3 separate regions of the Homo sapiens genome follow, and regions 2 and 3 are each linked to region 1. Evidence: promoter capture Hi-C in 16 types of primary human blood cells and fetal thymus (Javierre and others, 2016). All regions are on one chromosome and are shown on one strand. The core of a region is centred on a gene start or on the middle of the fragment in contact, and the rest is flanking DNA. Distances in the headings are between cores, read along the strand shown. Region 1 holds the start of IFT81 (intraflagellar transport 81). Region 2 holds the start of VPS29 (VPS29 retromer complex component). Region 3 holds the start of TCTN1 (tectonic family member 1).

The links. The method cuts DNA at HindIII sites, captures the fragments that hold promoters and counts their contacts. A CHiCAGO score of 5 or more calls a contact.
Region 2: the fragment with the promoter of VPS29 here is called in contact with a fragment that was not itself captured in region 1 in 1 of 17 cell types (fetal thymus); the score reaches 5.3 in fetal thymus.
Region 3: a contact is called between the fragment with the promoter of TCTN1 here and a fragment that was not itself captured in region 1, in 2 of 17 cell types (fetal thymus and total CD8 T cells). The highest score is 5.8, in fetal thymus.

The regions. Positions count from the first base shown.
Region 1 is chr12:110,121,157-110,124,917 of GRCh38, reverse strand. IFT81 (intraflagellar transport 81) reads right to left here and starts at 561. Exons shown (of 19, transcript NM_014055.4): 1 at 57-561. RefSeq lists a silencer at 478-747. The HindIII fragment of the contact is 3,207 bases long and covers 849-3,761 here.
Region 2 is chr12:110,500,271-110,503,922 of GRCh38, reverse strand. It overlaps VPS29 (VPS29 retromer complex component), which reads left to right and starts at 1,812. Exons shown (of 4, transcript NM_016226.5): 1 at 1,812-1,874. The coding sequence starts at 1,872. RAD9B (RAD9 checkpoint clamp component B) reads right to left here and starts at 1,592. Exons shown (of 11, transcript NM_001286535.2): 1 at 1,540-1,592; 2 at 47-117. The coding sequence starts at 1,585. RefSeq lists an enhancer at 1,844-1,983. The HindIII fragment of the contact is 1,449 bases long and covers 1,667-3,115 here.
Region 3 is chr12:110,611,998-110,615,639 of GRCh38, reverse strand. TCTN1 (tectonic family member 1) reads right to left here and starts at 1,511. Exons shown (of 15, transcript NM_001082538.3): 1 at 1,238-1,511. The coding sequence starts at 1,457. RefSeq lists an enhancer at 1,185-1,234. The HindIII fragment of the contact is 6,908 bases long and covers 1-3,642 here.

The DNA of each region.
Region 1 (3,761 bases), core at 1,203-3,702:
GCAATTACTGTCCCTCTTCTAGCGCGAAGTCGCCGCGCTAATTCCCAAGCACTCACCCACAAACGAGTCGCAGGAGGCGGGGAACAATGAAAACCAGGACGTGCGTGTTCTCTGGCACAATTTGGGAGAGAAACCGTGCTGCCTGGGTCCCAGGCTGGCACGAGCATCGACCCGCAGCCTCCTGGGAGTACCAGAAATAGTGTCCCCCTCCCCGGGCTCGGGACAGGGGACAGGGGACCCCACACCCGACCGGGCCTCTAGCGGGGGCTGCCCTGGGCCCCTCGACAGTTCATCCCTCCAGGGAGCGGCCTGGATCCGCTCGAATCCCAGAAGGGGCCCGATTCCCCTATCCGGGGGCTTAACCGCGACGACCCCTTCCACTTGCGAGGTGCTGCATCAGGACCGAGAGAGGACGGGAGCTCTCTCCTATTTCGGGGTTCAGAGGAGCTTCCGACCGCGAGTTGGCGAGGTTACCTCAAATTCTCCTCACGAAACCGTTTCCCCACCCCCCAGGAGGCGCCCGGGCTCTAGACCGCTCCCAGAGTCGAGCTCCTTGGCAACGGTTGCTAGGCCGTAGAGTTACGTCACTTCCGGGCGAGCGGCCGCTCTCCCGCGCGCGCGCGCACGAGCTGGGGGGCGGGGCCGGGCCAGGGCGGGGAGGACGGGCGCGGGGCGGAGCGGACGGGGCGGGGCGGGGCGGAGCGGACGGGACGGGGCGGGACGGGGCGGGGCGGACGGGGCGGACGGGAGCCGGGCTTACTTGCAAAGCGGGCCCACGTGCTGAGCCACTGCAGACAGCCGAGGGCATTTGGGACTGTTACTCCGACCTAGACGCGCTACAATAAGCTTCCCGAAAGTCCTGCACTTCGCAGTTTACAAAATACTCTCTGCATGATTAACCTATGTTAAATGCGTGTGATGTTTCATTCATTCATTCATTCATGCATGCATGCATGCATTCATGCGCCAAACGTGGGTGATGATTTTTGTTTGTTTTTGAGGCAGGGCTGGGTGGTAGGGGGGTTGGGATGAGCAAGCATTTGGCCAGTGCTTCAAATTTAGGTTTTTGACATAAGTATCTCCAAATTAGGTTATGCATAGGAACAATTGTAGTGAGGCTCTGGCAGGATTAAAAGAAGACACATTCATCATAGAGATTTCAGCTTCTGTGTCACATTACTGGGCCACATTGCCTGTACTGGGAATTAAATTTTTTTAAACCCAATACGTTTTGAGTATGCTGAGAGCCTGAAAGGGGGTGTGGGAGAACTAAGTGTCCTAATGTTCCTTTGGCTTCTGAGTGGGCTCTCTTTAGGTGACTGCAGAAATAAATTAAATCCTCCTTGTGGTCTTCATGGAGTTCACATCCCACGCAGGACGCAGGGAGATCTTTGTGCCCAGTCACTGATGAGGTTTAAAAGTCTACTGGAATTTGCACTAGCTGGTTTGTGGGAGACCTTAGTTGGCAAATGGTATTTTGAACCAACCTCTATTAGACTAGAGACCACGATACTTAGTGATATCAGCTGGCAATGAAAGAAAGAGAAGGAAAAAAAATCAAATTATTGATACCTTGAAAACTTAGTTGCCTGCTCAAACAGCATAGGAGAAACCAACTATAGCTTTAGCATCAGACTTACCACAACAAAAAATAACAGATTACGTATTAGGCATTTCCTATATGCCCTGTACTGTACAGGCTGCTGGAAATGCAGAAGGGCAGGACTTACCTGGCCCCTGCCCTGATGGAGCTGACAGTCTAGTGCCGGCAGAGATTATTAAAGGGGCAACACCAATACAATTGAGATAAATGCTGTAACAAGAGAAGCCAATGATTAGGAGCCCAGATTAAGGGCCTCAAGTTTATTTGGGGAGGGTGGTGCCAAAGGGGCCATACCATCAGGAAAGTTTCTGTCAAATGGAGTGATGTTTAAGGATCAGTAAAAATTAGGCCTGGCACCGTGGCTCACGCCTGTAATCTCAGCACTTTGAGAGACCAAGGCAACAAGATAACTTTGAGCCCAGGAGTTCAGGATCAGCCTGGGTAACAGAGCAAGACCCTTTCTCTACAAAAAATTAAAAGCAAAAATTGGTCAGGGGTGGCACCATTGCACTCCAGGCTGGGCAACAGAAGGAGACCCCCATCTCTTAAAAAGGATCAGTAAAAATTAGCCAAACAGGAAAAGGGAGAGTGTTTTGGGCAGAGGCAACACAACATTCCAAGACCAGTCCCTTTGTTGGCTGCCCTCTGACTGTTGAAATATCAAGCGTAGGTACCCTGCAGGGCTCCTGGAGAGAAACTAAAACTGGCCCCACCCCACAACCAATTAGGGGAAGCAACACTCAAAACCTCAAAGAATTAAATAACTTACATAATACTGACAGAAACAATACAAGATTTGTAGAAGGGATTATATAATTCATTGATCCTGTTGGGTGTGTTAGGAGACATCCCTGGCTACCTGGGTTTGAATTCTGCATCTGCCATTGTGTACCCTCTCTTTATCTTGCTAAACTTTCCTCATCTGTAAAACGTGGCTATAATAAAACCTTCCTCAATAGGGTTGACATGAGGATTAAGGGAGTTGATACAGGTAAAGTGATTACAACAGTGCCCAACATTGGGAGGCACTGAAGACATTTATGTTTTTTCTTTTTAAAAAAATGAGGCATGTACATGGTGGCTCATGCCTGTAATCTCAGCACTTTGGGAGGCTGAGGTGGGAGGACAGTCTTAGCCCAGGAGTTCAAGTCCAGCCTGAGCAACAGTGAGACCCCATCTTTAAAAAAAGAAAAGAAAAAAGAAAAAAAAAAGAAGTAAAAGAATTTTTTGAATAAAACTTTAAAAATAAGATGGTTTGCCAGACACAATGGCTCATGCCTGTAATCCCAGCACTTTGGGAGGCTGAGATGGGCCGATCACTTGAGGTCAGGAGTTCAAGACCAGCCTGGCCAACAAGGTGAAACCTCATCTCTATCAAAAATACAAAAATTAACTGGGTGCGGTGGTGCATGCCTGTAATCCCAGCTACGTGGGAGGCTGAGGCAGGAGAATCACTTGAACTTGGGAGGCAGAGGTTGCAGTGAGCGAAGATCACGCCATTGCACTCCAGCCTGGGCAACAGAGTGAGACTCTGTCTCAAAAAAAAAAAAAAAAAGAAAAGAAAAGAAAAAAGAAAAAGTAAAGAAAAGAAAAAAGAAAAAAAAAAGATGGTTAGATTTGCACCTTCTATAGGGTTTATGGGTATAGGCTATAGAAATCCTAGATAGGAGTGGTTTATCTAATAGCTTTTAGTTCCTCCTCTCTCTGTTGCCCCTGGTCTACAAACACTATACCTTTCAGTTATGAGACTGCAATCCTGTATAAATTCAAATAAGCAAGAGGATCCACTCTTTGGACTCAAACTTGAATAGATTTTATGCTTAATATGGTTGCTCTGGAACACGGGGAAGAACTTGAAGCCAGTCAGCATGCTTCCTGGAATCTGTATATTGAAAAATTTATGTTCCGACTTACAGTAAAAAAGAGAACTGCATATATTGGGTCCCCGAGGCCAAAGGAAGATTGGCTACCACCCCCTGATTCTGTGTGTGTGTGTGTGTGTGTGTGTGTGTGTGTGTGTGTGTGTGTGTGTGTTTGTGTTTGGAGATGGAGTCTCACTTTGTCACCCAGGCTGGAGTGCAATGGCGCAATCTCGGCTCACTGCAGCCTCCGCCTCCTGGGCTCAAGCAATTCTCCTGTCTCAGCCTCCCTAAAGTGC
Region 2 (3,652 bases), core at 563-3,062, 380 kb before region 1:
CATCTCCTCTTGCCTTGATACGTGATCTGTTAACTTTCTTACTTACACCTTTTTTAGATGGGTCTAGCCAGAACTCGTCACTAATTCGTGATAGAGCTTGAACTGCTTTCCCAAATACTATGGAGAAAAAGAAAGGTGATGCTTATATTCTTTCCCTCTAACAATAAAAACAAATCACAAGACTAGTTCAGCATTCAGAGGACTCAAGAGAAATTCAAAAATAACAGTATCTTACAGACTAATGCTACATTACTTTAATACAGTATAATACCCTTGGCAAAATGCCAGACACATAGTCAGGGCTCAATAAATTTGTAGTGTGTGAAATGATAAAATTGACCGAAATTTGTCCTTCTATATGTTTACAGTGTTGCATGGAGCTACTGTGCAAACCAATTTCCATACTAATGTATTTTACAACTTGATTTAGATAAATGTATTTGACCCCCCAAAAACTGTGAAAACAGTGCATGGAGAAGATAATCTGAAGTGGTTTTAATAGCTTGATAGCCAAGTCACAACAAGTCATGAGAGAGAAATTAGGGGTATCCAACATACATCTCTGATGTTTGAGGGCAGCCAGATTTCCCCACCACAGAACACATTTAGGGCTGGAAAACACACTAGTCTGATCCCGTACGACATTGTTAATGTTCTTTTTATTTTTTATTTTTTTTGAGACAGAGTCTCACTCTGACACTCAGGCTGGAGTGCAGTGGCACGAGCTCAACTCACTGCAGCCTCAACCTCCCGGGCTCAATCGATCCTCTCGCCTCAGCCTTCCAAGTAGCTTGGGATTACAGGCGCCCACCACTAAGCCCGGCTAATTTTTGTATGTTTAGTAGAGACGGGGTTTCATCATGTTGGTCAGGGTGGTCTCGAACTCCCGACCTAAGGTGATCCACCCGCCTTGGCCTCCCAAAGTGCTAGGATTACAGGCGTGAGCCACTGCACCCGGCCTAACTTCCATTTTGAAAGCGCCGTTTACAACACTAATAGTTCTTGTACATTCCATCTATTACTGGGCTCTTTACACGCATTTCCATTTCATTGCCTCCAAACAAACTCTGTGACGAAGGTGCTGTCATTACCCCTGTTTCCGTTTTAGAAACTGAGCCCCAAAGAGATTTAGTGACTTTTCCAAGTTCATACATTTTTAAAAATGGTAGAATCTGGGGAAAAAAAAAACCAGGTTAATGCTGTTCTCTTGGCACAAAAATACTTTTACTGTCCAAGCATTATTTTTTTCTCTCAACTCTTCCCCATGCAGTCCTCAGCATCCCGAGTTTGTGGCCCGATGGTACAACTCTATTTCCCGGATACCACCCATATTACATCTGCCTCTAAGTCACACGAGATGGGTCCTCATCCTCCCCTCAGAAGTTAACAGGGACTTGAGTGGGTGGGGCTGTGGCCAGGGCGTGCGTCCTCAGTCATTGCGCAAAAAGGCAAAGAGGAAAAATTAGACAATGGTAGGGACGACCTATTAACGTCTGCTTTTCTCTCTGCTAAATGGGAAGACAACAAAGGCCGCTCCACCTTTCACCTGACTGCCGCTCATCACGCACTTCAGCATGGCTGCCATCCGCCCTAAAAAGCAGGCTCGGAAGGCGCGCCTCAGCTCGACGGCCCAGGTGCCCGGATGTTGCCCGCGCTTTTCAAAGCTTCGCGATCTCGTCTCTGCACTCTACCACCCCGCCTCCACAAGTTCCCAAACGGCTTTACGGCGGAGAAGGGTCCGTGCGGGCCTCCGTACGGCAATTTCTGTCTCCCTCTGCTCTCATTGGTTGCGGTTAAGTGGGCGGGTCGCCGAGGAGCCTGAGGAAGAGGGCGGCGACGGTGGTGGTGACTGAGCGGAGCCCGGTGACAGGATGGTGAGGGCTGCAGTTGCGGCGACCAAGGCCTGGCTCTCGGGTGGGGTGCTGCGTTGTTGGGAGCCGTGGGGAGGCCGAGGGCGAGGAATTGGGAAATCCCGGAGGCCTCGGCGTCAGGGCCCAGGCGCTGGCCTGGGAAAGGCCCAGAAGAGGTCTAGGGAAGGAAGGGAGCGGCCACCTCTGGGTGCGGCTGGCCTAGGTCTCGTATCCCGGCCCCAAGGGGCCAGAGGCCATCCAAGGGGTAAAAAGGCCCCTCTAGCAGCCCGACCTGTCACGAGACACGCACGCCCGAGCCAGGGAAGGCCTTTGGTCCTATACCTCGAATGTTCCGGGGATAGGGGCACGGTCCTCCGTTTCCAGACGGTTCCTACTCGTTTCCCGCAAAAAGCACCTCCCGCTGGTTGGGGTGTAGTGGTGGAAGCTGGCCTCTCGAATGCAGAACAGGAAGTAGCGAGCAGAATTTCGTACCCGTTTAACTTTGCCATCTAGGGAAAGGGAATAAACCACCCTCCTCGCTCCTGAAATAACATCTAGCTGCCATTGAGATGAGCAGGTGTGCTCTCAGAGGGCGGGATTTGGCGCTTGCAATTGCTGGAACTGTTTCTTTCCACGGGTTGCTACGCCTCTTTAGGGTAGGATTCCTTAATGATGTGTGAACTCATTGAAACTGTTGGGAAATTTTTGTGAATATACACATTTTTCTGGGGAGAGTGCCGGTGTTGGAGACTTACCTAGTCTCCCCCAGCCACCTTCAAGCAATCACCCCTTCACCCCCAGTAGTTTGGTGCCCCTCAGACCTTCCTACATAAAAACTGGGGGCCTCTACTAGAGAGGACTCAGAGCTGTAATCATATTTTCTTTCTTTCTTTTTGAGATGGAGTCTCGCTCTGTCGCCCAGGCTGGAGTGCAATGCCGCGATCTCGGCTCACTGCAATGCCGCCCGGGTTCAAGCCTCAGCTCCTGCCTCAGCCTCCCGAGTAGCTGGGATTACAGGCGCCCGCCACCAAGCCCGTCTAAATTTTTGTATTTTTAGTAGAGACGGGGTTTCACCATGTTGGTCAGGCTGGTCTCTACCTCCCGACCTCAGATGATCCACCCGCCTCGGCCTCCCAAAGTGCTGGGGTTACAGGCGTGAGCCACCGCGCCCGGCCTGTAATCATATTTTCAAAGGTGCCTTTGACTCTTAAAAAGTCAATTGTTTGGGGCAACCCACTCGGGTCCCCTTCCACCCTGTGTAAGCTTTGTTCTTTCGCTCTTCACAATAAATCTTGCTGCTGCTCAAAAAAAAAAAAAAAATCAATTGTTTGAAATGGAGCTGTGATTATCTTCATATTTGTGTTGATGGAGGTTGGCTGTAAAGGGACGTCTACCTCTGACAGGCATTTATTGCATTCTTTTTTATTTTTACAAGGAAACCAAAGAAGCTATGCATTTTTAAGATTATTACTATTGCATGACAAACAGCCTTTTCAAGAGGGGGACTTACAGACATGGCAGCCAGAGATTTATGGTGCATGCTTCTTTAAAATCTTTAATCTCACTTTTAATTTTTGCTTCTAAACAGACTCCAATTTAAAGTAATCCGTTTACAGTAATTTCGAGACACCTATCCATGGGAGAAGACATAATTACTTGCCATGGTTTCAAAATATTAATGTTTCTCAAGTTGTTTGAGAAGTGATCCCTCTTATTTAGGGTAGTTGTACTGGAACATCATTTTTCATATGAAATAGAACTGGGAAAAATTTAGCATTAGCCAGTTCTTTCATGATTAAAAG
Region 3 (3,642 bases), core at 262-2,761, 490 kb before region 1:
AGCTGGGGGAGCACGCCTGTGGTTCCAGCTACTCTGGAGGCTGAGGCAGAAGGATCCCTTGAGCCCAGCAGATTGAGACTTAAGTGAGATATAATCACGCCACTGCACTCCAGCCTGGGTAACAGAGCGAGACCTTGTCTCAAAAACAAAAAAAGAATAAAAAAAGATTAAAAGTACTGCATATCTATTGGGGTTACTCTCAATTCACACAATCGGAAAATTTTAAAAACTTTTTTTGAGATCATGAACCACTTTAAGAATCGGCTGCTATGAACTCTCATCTCAGGAAAAGGCATATTCACAAAGTTTTGCACTCAATCTTAGCGGGTCACAGTCATTCAGTGAAGTCATCCATGTCAATTTTTTTTTTTGAGACAGTCTTGCTCTGTCGCCCAGTCTGGAGTGCAGTGGTAATTACTGCAACCTCTGCCTCCTGGGTTCAAGCGAGTCTCCTGCCTCAGCCTCCCGAGTAGCTAGGATTACACCATGCCCGGCTATTTTTTCTATTTTTAGTAGAGACTGGGTTTCGCCATTTTGACCAGACTGATCTTGAACTCCTACCTCAAGCAATCCACCCGAGTTGACCTCCCAAAGTGCTGGGATTACAGGCGTGAGCCACGGCGCCAGCCAAACGTCAAATTAGATTATAAAATATTTCCACTAAATGTGTAATTCTAGAATTAATCATTTTCTGAAAAAAATGTTAATTATCCCTACATATGACTCCTAAGAAGTGAGCATAACCCCTCCCTCAATAGCTTTCCACCTCCAATTCAACACAGGAGGAATCCTGGGTTTTTAGAATTCAGGTCAACAGAGAAGGGTCTTAACATAGTCACATTTAGTAAGATAGACCTTTGGCCTCTCTTTAAGTGAAAGTTCAGTGCAGCCAAGGCACTAATTTCCACCATTGTCTCGACTTAATTTCGTCTTGGGCTGCAAGAATTCATTATTGCTCTTTGCATCACTGTTGTCTGGGACCACTTCAAGTATTTTCAAAGGTTTGATACCGTTCCACTTAAACTCTGAGACCCGGTTTTCTCATTTACCTGACAGTGATAGTAACAGCTACTTCTCAGGGTTATTGTTTAGAGAATGGACGTTTATGGAACACTCAGCAGTGTCTGCACACAGTAAGTGCTCAATAAGAGTTAGCTATCATTATTACGTCCTCACCGGGGCTGTCCCCTTGAGGTTGGATCACTGTGGACTCCAGGAGCTGGCACATGGTACCCACCGTCCGTGACTGGGGTAGGCCTGGGGCCGGAGGAGGGCCCTGGAGCCCTGGGAGTCCCGGGGGGCCTGGTCGACGGGAAAGTTCCGAAGGTGGCCAGGGCTGCCTCGGTGGAGTTGAGGCCCTCTGTCGTCACCGCCGGGGTGGCATCGGTCTGGGCGCTCACGGAGGCCCAGCAGCCCAGGAGCACCACCAGGAGCGGCGGGAGACCTCGCGGCCTCATCTCCCAGGGAGTCCCAGCGAGGCCCGCGACATGGACAGCGCGTTGCCCGGCAACCGCGACAGCCAGGCGCGGGGCATCACGGGAAGGGGCTTGCGAAGCCGCGAGAAGCTGCCGGAGACTGACTGGGGCGAAGCCTGGATGAGGCAGGGGGCGGATCCCGGATGAGGCCGGAGGGCGGCGCCTGGGTGAGGCAGCGATGGCAGGCACAGGGGCGAGCACTAGTGAGCGGGTGTGAAGCTGGCGTAAACGAGGGGCGTGTAAATCCCGGCTGTGGTTTCCAACCGGTCCGCGGCGCTTGCTTAAAAAATGCAGATTTTCTGTAGTTCCAGCTACTCGGGAGGCTGAGGCAGAAGAATCGCTTGAACCCGGGAGGTGAAGGCTACAGAGAGCCGTGAGCGTGCCACTGCACTCCAGCCTGGGCGACAGTGTGACACTCTGTCTCAACCAAAAAAAAAAAAAAAAAAAAAAAAGACGGATTTCCAGGTACCACCTCAGGAGATCCTGAGTCAGTTAGTCTAGGGCAGGACCCAGGAATCAGTTTTTGGGGGATTTTTTTTGAGACAGGGTCTCACTCTGTCGCCCAGGCTGGAGTGCAGTAGCGCGATCTCGGCTCACTGCAGCCTCGACCTCTGGGACTCAAGCAATCCTCCCACTTCAGCCTCCTGAGTAGCTGGGAACTCAGGCGCGCGCCACCATACCCAGCTAATTTTTGTATTTTTTTTTTTTTTTTTTTTTTTTTGTAAAGACGAGGTCTCCCTCCGTCGCCCGGACTGGTATCGAACTCCTGGTTCAAGTGATCCACCTGCTCCAGCCTCCTGAGTCCTGAGTAGTTGGGATTACAGGCGTGAGCCACCACTCCCAGCCAGGAATAAATATTTTTAACAAATGTCCGGACGCAAGCAGATGAGTTGGACGGAAATTTAGGAAGCGCCGTCCCAACGCCACTAACGTGGGTGTTTGGAAGGAGCACAGGGATCTGTGAGATCACTGTCTCTGAATTTTCTCTATCCCAGACTCTGTCAACACTGGCTTCACCTTTTTATTTTAGCTGCATCTCACAAGGTTGCCAGATAACTTCTGTCTGCTGTATTGTGATAAAGGGGACAAATGAACACTTAATACCTTTTATTATTTTTTGTAGAGAGGGGGTCTCACTATGTTGATCAGGCTAGTCACAAACTCCTGGCCTCAAGTGATCCTCCCGCCTCAGCCTCCCAAAGAGCTAGGATTACAGGCATGAGCCACCACGCCAGGCCTAAGAACCTATTTAAAGACAAAAATCTTTTACAAAAATTAAGTAAAATAATTTAGACATCTTAAAGGGGAAAACAAAGCAAATCCACTGTAATGCTACAAAACGACCTGGAGACCCTACGATTTAGGAAACCCTCTCCATTCTGAATGGGCTTATTTAGGAGGTACCCAAGCCCAAGAATGTTGGCTGCACCTTTGACACTTAATCTCCATACAGTTCAGAAGTAGATGTCGAAGTACTTAGACGTGGCCAGGCACAGTGGCTCACACCTGTACTCCCAGCCCTTTGGGAGGATCGCTTGAGTCCAGGAGTTGAGACCAGCCTGGGCAACATGGTGAAACCACATCTCTACAAAAAATACAAAAATTAGCCAGGTATGGTGGCACATTCCTGTAGTCCCAGCTACTCAGGAGGCTGAGGTGGAAGGATCGCCTCAGTCTGGAGAGCTTGAGGCTGCAGTAAGCCATGATAGTGCCACTGCACTCCAAAACAAAAAAACCTTAAACATAACACAGTATTTATTCAAGAAATGTATATACCAATTCAAAAGGATGTCAAACAGTATATATATCTAGTTTATTAAATGTATTTAGCAAAACTAAATCATCAAAGTGATATCTTTAGCACCTTCCTGTGGCATTCCAGAGACAGTGTATAAAAATATAATTGAATCACTCAAATGTGTAAGACAGATACTTCTTTTTTTCTGCAAAGGATTGCTTTAGCATCTGACTGAAATTCTGGACTGCTTTTAATAACTGATTAAATGCTTCCCCTTTTAAAAAAAATAACCAAAAGTAGGCCGGGCATGGTGGCTCACGCCTGTAATCCCAGCACTTTGGGAGGCTGAGGCGGGTGGATCACGAGGTCAAGAGATCAAGACCACCCTGGCCAACATGGTGAAACCCCGTCTTTACTAAAAATACAAAA